2 separate regions of the Homo sapiens genome follow, and region 1 is linked to region 2. Evidence: promoter capture Hi-C in human tissues and cell types (Jung and others, 2019). All regions are on one chromosome and are shown on one strand. Each heading gives the region's core, a stretch centred on a gene start or on the middle of the fragment in contact. The rest is flanking DNA. Distances are from core to core; before and after follow the strand shown.

Region 1 (4,098 bases), core at 1,296-3,795, 33 kb before region 2:
AAAAAATGATACAGAATAATCAACACCAAGCTATGTCCTGAAAAAAATTATAAATCTTCAAGAACAAAGAAAAAAGTGAATCTTAAGTCCACCCACACATAGAAAAATAAGTTTCCTAAAAAGCAGAAATAATCAGGTCTACCTCAGAGACTTCTCTTCCGTAACAATGCCATAAATAGTGGATCAGTGTCTACATATTTCTAAAGGAAAAAGAGTATATTCAAGAATTTGGGGAGGTTTTAAGGAAGTGGGACTTTTCTTTGGATTGAATGCTATTAGGAAGTAGCAATAGTTTTGTGACTGGGTACCCTAGTAATTCCTGTCTAAAAGGTGAGAAGAATGAAGCATAACTAAAGTTGCGATTTGTAGAGAATCAGCAATTACACATATTATACATAATGTGGAGATGTTTGATCATTTTTTGTGGTATGGACAAGGTTGTTTTTGTACCTGAAAATGGTTTTCTATTAAATTATTTATGTTCAACAGGAGGACACCACGGTCTAGCTGCAAATGCCAGGTCTGCTCCTGGCCATCAGGGACTGCCATCCTCTTACTCAATTTTCTGTAGTAGAAAGTTACTGTATTAGTCTGTTTTCATGCTGCTGATAAAGACACACCTGAGACTGGGCAATTTATTAAAAAAAGAGGTTTAATGGACTCACAGTTCCACGTGGCTAGGGAGGCCTCACAATGATGGTGGAAGGTGAAAGGCACATCTTGCATGGCAGCAGACAAGACAGAATGAGAGCCAACTGAAAGGGGAAACCCTGTGTAAAACCATCAGATCTTGTGAGACTTATTCACTACCACAAGAACAGTATGGAGGAAACTGCCCCCATGATTCATTTATCTCCCACCGGGTCCCTCCCACAACACATGGGAATTATGGGAACTACAATTCAAGATGAGATTTGGGTGGGGACACAGCCAAACTATATTTGTATGTCTTGGGAATTTTGGTATTCTTCAGGAAATCTTAAACTTTGCAAACTAAATTGATACTTAAAAGTTGCTATAATGGGCAAATTTAGTTCCAAGCCTTCATTATGTTATGTTTCTGCTGTTCTAATTTTTTGAGTGTGAAGGGCTTGTGCTGCAACAGTTAAAAAACTATTTCAATAGTCATAATAATAAAAATGGCCATTTATCGTGTCTAATATGTACCAGACAGCATTTCAGGTGCTGTATATTTGGATTCTTTATTACCTCTCCCGAAACCCAATGAGGTAGATATGATTACAGAAAATGAAAGAGAAGCCCTAGACTGTACATAATTTCCTCACAGTCACACACAAAATAGGTGGCAGAGACACAGTACATTTTTACATCTCTCTAACCTCAAATCCCACATCATTTCTATTGATAATTGTTAATAAGTTTCAGAAACCTCTTATTTTCTATTATCAAAATAAAATAGGAAATGCTAAAAAGCAGCAGCAGTAGCAACAATAAAATAGAAAGTAAATTTTTATTAAAAAACTTTTGAGATTGCCTCCTTACCCAATGTAAGGGTTTTTTTTTTAACCTTAAATGTAGTGGATTATCTGATACTTGCATAATATTCTTCCTGTCATACTCTTGTTCCTTCAGCTGATCCCAACTAACTGGTTAAAAATAAGCTTCTGCTTGCTGCTTTCTAAAGAAGAGTGGCTTAGAATGGATTCCTTTCTGTGCTTTGGAGAAACTTATTACTGGTGGGTAAAACTTAGGTAACAAATTTCTCCATAGCACAGTAAGGAACCTATCTATGATTATATAAACCACAGATTATCTTAGAGAACAAAGTCCTGACCTGGATAGCATCAGAAAGTCCCCCTCTTAAGGTCCCTTCTGGTACATGGACTGATGAGCTGGGGAGGCCAGTGAAATATAGTGACATTTTTGGCTAACAATTATTTTACATTTTCCATTCTGGAGTTGCCCTTGAACTAGAATATTGCATGAAAGATGCCACCTAGCCAATAAAACTTCCCAAGAATCAGCTCACCAAGAAGGCTTTATCTTTTACAAAGTTTACCACAGGTTCCCAAAAAGGGCCATGACTACTAAAAGAGGTGTTGAGTCTTTAAAGTTATAACACTTTCCCATGCTTCCTTCTCTGAGCTATAAATCTCTGATTACCCTCTAGAATGTTGAAGAAATGGCAGAGGCGACATATTTGATTAGGGGTTGGGGTAAAGAGGTAACCTTGCTTCAGAGGTCTCAACCTTCCAAGTGTCTGTTCAACCAGAGGTGAAGATGCTCCAGGCTACAGATGGCAGTCTGACTCCGGCCAATGCCTGATGAGTCCCTTGGTTTGTACAGAGCAGAATAAGGAAAAGGGATGGGAGAGGAGCTATCTCAAGACTTTGTGTGAACTACTCAGCAGGAGCAAATAATTATTAATATTTATTTACTTGACCACTGGACCTGATATTGATGTGTAAAAATGTGTACAGAGGGGCAAAAGTTTTGGGATTTTTTTTTTGTCAAGTTATTAACACAGTTGTCGCTTACCCCTCTGTGTTTCAATGAACCTAGGAGGACTGCTTGCAAGTTCCACACTCCTGTCTGGCTGTACTCTGTCACCTTCTGGCCCTTTGATGACCCCTGTGCCTCCTCACACTGTTGCTCCCTTCCTCTCACCCTTTTCCCCAAGTGTGGGCACAGATCTGTCTCCCAATTCTCCAAAACACAGCTAAGACCAGACAACTGTATTAAACCAAATCTTACTCTTGGCTTAAGAATTGCAAAAGGGAATTAAAGCATAGAAAACTTATAAAATTGGTAGAAAGCTTAAATGTGCTCAAGGTCCCCATGCCTAGCAGAGTCCCATGTTACTGTCTCCCTCCTTAGGTCATGGCCTTCTTCCCAGGGGCCATTGCCAGCCTGGCCTTGTCTCCACTCCCCAGCCCAAGCCCTCAACTCCTCAAAGGCTTCCTCTCACTCCCAGGCTCAGAGCAGCTTCTGCTGGGATATGATTCCTCTCACAAGGAGACAAACTTGTGACTGAACTGTAGAGCCCATCACCCCTACCACTTAAAAAAATTATTTTTGCTTCATCTTTGCTTAACCAGAGAGCTAAAATAGATGTTTTCCCAATATACAAAAAAAGACAATTTTATCTTAAAGTAGAATTCATATCATATCTCTACCTCTAATAGAAGTTTCAGACCCTTACCCCAATTCTATCAAAAAATATAGGAGGTCTAATCTTGGGCAAAGCACCCTATTGAATGAGACATAGATAATATATTGTTGACATTATCACATGTGTTATCATCTCTATTGACAAAACAAAAACCAGTTGTTCCTGTCTCTCATATTTAACAAAATAATTGTGGCTGTATTTCTTTCAATATCCTCCTTTCTGGAAAGAAAATTTCCATGGAGCTCCCTTGGACCAGAATAATATCAAATTTCTAACATTATTATGGAATTAATTAATAAGGTAATATGCAATTTAATAGCATAAAGGCACCTACTTTTTTTTCCTAGTGAAAACACTGACACACTTTAACCTATCTTTAGTCATGCAGTGAGAGGCTTTGTATACTCCCATTGACACAGTGGGGACCCACTGGTGTTTCCTCAGTGACATGAGAACCACCTAAAGCCATGGTCCTTTAAAATTTCCACCTAAAAAACTTTTGTAACCCAGCCCCATCTGACACCTCCATTTTGCCAGAAGCCTGTAAGTTATTAAGCAATTATCTCTGTAACTCATGTTTCTTCACGAAATGAGCTTCTTTATGTAATGAGCTTCGAGCTGGGTTCTGCCAATTTCATTCAGTGTGGCTGTGTTTAATAGTGATGTAAGTGACTTCTTGGCCATCTGTAGTAAGTTATTTTCTCATGTTCCTTGTTTCCATTTCCCTTGTTGAGAAGGTCATTTCCTTGTATTTACATGACTTCTTTCACAAACTCCCTAGCCTTTCTCTGTAGGGTTTTGCACCCTGATTCAGTCTTTTACACAAGGTCACAGCCCCCTGACTATTCCCATGGATTCTGTTCTTTCTTTTTCTTCCGATATTGTCCCACCTTTACCCCACTCCCCTGGCTACTTCGCACTGCTCATTATAGCTTTTCTGATAGTTGACAGAGTCATCATATTGG
Region 2 (4,222 bases), core at 771-3,270:
CAAAATCTGGAATCAGTATTAACATGATGAATGCATTCCAGGTTCATGCTTAACAGTTGAGCACTTAGTTGCATTCAAAGTACTTTGCCCAGTTAGAGTACATACACCTTCAAAACTAGGATATATGGAATAAAAATTTGAATTTTTCCATGTTTAAATTCTTCTTGAAATTTCTAACACAGTTGTTTTCACTATCCCTTTATTCTTATTTGTAAATTATTTTTAAATGACTAAAAAAAAATTAAAGGTCCACTGGATAGTAAATGGGGATAACTGTTTCTACTGATCCACTGAGGGTTAAGGGGACAGTGCAAATTTCAATAATGGTTCTGGAAATTTTCAGACCTATAACACCTCAGATTGTTTAAAGTTTTGGATTCTCTCGCTCCCCAAGAAAAAGCACTTATGCATGAAATAGTATGTATTAAAATCCCACAAAGTACATGGATTCCTTGAAGTCCGTAGATGAGGAAACTGTGACTCAGAGAATAAGTAACTAACCTACATTTTAATTTGAAGGTAAGACATTATAACTTTATTGCCTGAGTTTAGCCTAAATAATATTTAGCATTTTATAGCTAGAAGTATTTCTTGGCCAGTTTAATACTAAAATTGTTAATTCAATTACTTTAAAGAAGAGAATGAAGCAATAGCTACTATGCTTTAGGACGTGTTCTCTTCTTTCCTAGTCATCTTTCTTTTTCACATTTCCGAAGTCAAGGATCTTTTTAAGCTCTCTGTAGTATAATGTTACAAGGCCGTGCAAACCTCGATCCCACTGTTAACCTCAGACAGTTCATTTCTTTCTGTTGGTGCTGAGGATCACTATCAGGAAATGAAAGAAAGGCTGGTAGACACAGCAGTCACTCGATATGTATAGACTGAAGAGATATGAGAATGCAAACAATATTAAAAGAATTGCAGCTGGGTCATTTAGAAGGGAAAGGAATAATCTTTCTTGAGAAGGCAGCAAACCTGCTGCTGACCTTCTACCTGCTAGAATGTGAGTTACTAATCAATATGACATGTACAACAGCCTGTCAAGTTTTATTGCTTAATGAGCCAGCAGAAAAAAAAGCAAATGTATGTACCAAGCGGGGGGCTCATTGTTCCTTGGTTAATATGTAGCATCTAACAAAGCCACTAGCTGGATCCCTTGACAGGTGTTTTCTACTGCTCCATTCCTTTGTCCGAGGCCGCACATACCAATCAAACACCACAATGCAGAGGTGCTCAAGGCTAGGAGCTGCAGGAAGCTGCCATGGGGCTTCTGGGCAGTTTTGTCGGCATACTGGTCTATCTGGGTGTATCGTCGTAAAGGGGGATTCTGAATTCCATTGCAACCCCAAGTGCAAATGTGGAAATCAAGCAACTTGGAACTTGAAAAAAAAAATCTACTATGAGAAGGGAAAGTGACTGCAAGAGGAGTCAAAATGATTCCTCTTGTTGGAAGGCTACCTCCCACCCTGAAAAAAAATCTTTTTCCTTGTCCAAAGCAATATTTAGAAGTGTTTCTATAGCAATTTCTATATACGTGCTTATCTGTGTATCTTGCTGTGGCCTGGGAGAATGAGCACATTCTTCTTCAAGGCCACAGGATGCAAGAAAGGGACAAACTCGGGGCTGAAGTATGAGAGAGAGCTCTCCTGACGTTAACACACATAATTATGGTTCTCAGGCAAAGAGCAGGCCTTTGCTCCGTCAACAGGGGCCTCCGCGTGCCCCGCAAGGGAGCTCCCGCCCTCACCATCCTCGGTTTCAGGCGGAGCGTAGTTCTCCGCGGTCTCGCTGTCGTTGTTTTCGGTCTCCTCCTCGCCCTCGCCTTCGTGGGCCAGGCCGGCATCCTGGACGGCAGCGGTGACGTTGGTCCCGCGCGCGGACTGGAGGCCCGCCAGAAGCAGCCAGCCGACAGTCATCAGCAGCCCGGCGGAGCAGCCCGTGCCCCTGGGGCTCATGGTTCTCGGCCCCGACGGCCGTCCGAGGCGCAGTCGCCGCCGCGGCTCCTGAGGACAGGTACGTCGAAGAGAGCTGCGACACCCCGCCCGTAGCCGCCCGGCTCCGAATCCCGTGACGAACCGTGACGCCTCAATGGTTGCCGGGGCGCTGCTCCGGTGCTGAGCGCCTGGAACTCGCGCGGAGCTAGGCTGCGAGGCGTGCAAGACGGAACGCGACGAGAAGCCGCGTGCGACAAGTCCCTAGGAGAGGACGCCGCCCTTCCCCGCAACCGGAAGTTCCCTGCCCAGGGCGCCTCCTTGAGCCTTCCGGGTGCGGTAGGCGTTGCTGTCGGCTGCTCCTTCTGCCTCAGTTTATGGAGCGACTCTTCAGCCTCCTCGCTCACCCTGCCTGCTTTCTTTTAAGACATTTCTTTTTCGTACATAATGTTTACCCTTCCCCAAACTAGACTTCTTATCCCTCACATACTCTTCGTGTGACTTGGTTTCAAAATTTCTTATCCAGAATATCCAATTTGGGATGTATTGAGAAGGATTCGATTTCTTCTTTGGGATCAGAATAATAGACTTTGAGTAAGAAGAAATTTAGAAATCATCTGATACTCCAAGTCCCTCATTTTTAAGTGAAGAGATTAAGAATCAGAGAGATGAAATGACTCGCCCCAAAAATCCAGAAATTATTTACAAAGCTGGATCTCACAGTCATATCTCCCGAACACTTACTTACTCGATGATCAGTGATTCTTATGATTCAAGGTTAACGAAGAAGCCTTTAGTGGGGGTGATTGGGAGTTCAAGCGCTGAAAAGTTAGGGTTGACTTTTTTGATTCTGTTATTACAAATTTTACCTCATCTAGTAGTCACAATGTGGTTGTTTGTTGTTGTTTTTGAAAAGACATATAGGGTGCCATACTTTGAGGCTTAATGTTTAAATTCCTATGACAAGTGAGATGAAAGTGAACTTGCATACACTCTGGCTTTTGGAATATTTGAATATCTAGTCTCAGCAGACTAACAGATAAGGGGGGTAACAGAAAAGTATTAAGAGGTTCTTCAGAAACACTTATTTGTAACAAAATAGGTTGTTTGAAGCAGAAGTTGAAATTTTGTATTTGAATATTTTCTCCTGCAAAGGCTTCTAATTTTGAAAATACAAGGACTGCTAAACACCTTCAGTGTTAAAGTTCAAATTGGTATTGGTGAGAAGTCTCGGGAACATTTATGTCAATTAAAATACCTTAAAATATAGCGCTTGACAAGATTATGAGGGACGTTAACATGGAAAACTTAGATTTGATCTTGAGAAGTAAAGGCCTTTGTTTCATGGCTAAATGAGTCAAAATTTTTCTTTTTTGAATCCTGAGAGAAATAAGTCAAAAATTATGCCGTCAAACACAAACTTTAAAAAGATGATATATAGTATTGTTGCTGGCAAATTGTTGAGTGTTTCAAAGTCAATTTTAGGATCCATTGCTTCCTGAAGATAGTATCCTTTTTTAGCAGAGGAAGTCCCATAAACTCTAAAATATGTAATTTGACTCAAGGAAACATTAATAATCTAACAAATAATCATCTCCAAAGGGAGCCAGATGGGTCTCAAAGAGGACCTGAAAGATTTAACTCTGAAATAAAGACTATTAATATCTCTAATAGCAGCATTATAAATCACCTATAAAATACCATGTCACGCATGTAAGTTATAAGAAAAAGTATAATATCTGTCCTCAACAAACTTTTACTGTCTCTCTAGTACTCTCTCTAGCCACAAATAAATGAAAGATAAGTGTTTAGCCAGAAGGGCAGGGCACAGAATCTAGAGGGACTGACCCTACTCTAACCTGCAGATACTAAGGAGCAGGAATTCCACCCTGGATCCCTGATATGCTCCTCTGACCCACCTCATCCTGCCTGGAACTAAGCATCTCCACCCCCATCTCCAATTTCCAAGAGGTGGGGATTAGAGCCCAAACTCCTCTGCCCCACTCTGCCCAAACATAGCTCACCTATCTTGGTCTGACCTTACCTTGCTTGGCCTCATTTGGTATGTGGGAAAATCATTCCTCTATCCAGTCTCTGCACTACCTACCCTTGAAGACCAATTTGTATTCTGAAAAGGAAGACCAATTTGTGTATGTGTGATATAAGCACAAGATAATCAAGGCCTAAATAAAGGATTACCATAAAAATGAAAAGAGAAATGAATGTGAGAGAAATAACAAAGGAAGGATTAACAAAATGGAATGACTGGCTGCCTAAGCAGGATAAGGGAG

What was found. The method cuts DNA at HindIII sites, captures the fragments that hold promoters and counts their contacts. A contact is called where the count stands out against the background at its distance.
Region 1: a fragment that was not itself captured here is called in contact with the fragment with the promoter of SPACA1 in region 2 in 2 of the 25 tissues and cell types used here (hippocampus and stomach).

Annotation. Positions count from the first base shown.
Region 1 is chr6:88,079,205-88,083,302 of GRCh38, reverse strand. No RefSeq gene overlaps it. Among named protein-coding and RNA genes, the nearest start is that of SPACA1, 33 kb to the right of the region's middle. The HindIII fragment of the contact is 4,615 bases long and covers 238-4,098 here.
Region 2 is chr6:88,045,639-88,049,860 of GRCh38, reverse strand. SPACA1 (sperm acrosome associated 1) reads right to left here and starts at 2,020. Exons shown (of 7, transcript NM_030960.3): 1 at 1,748-2,020. The coding sequence starts at 1,955. The HindIII fragment of the contact is 21,921 bases long and covers 1-4,222 here.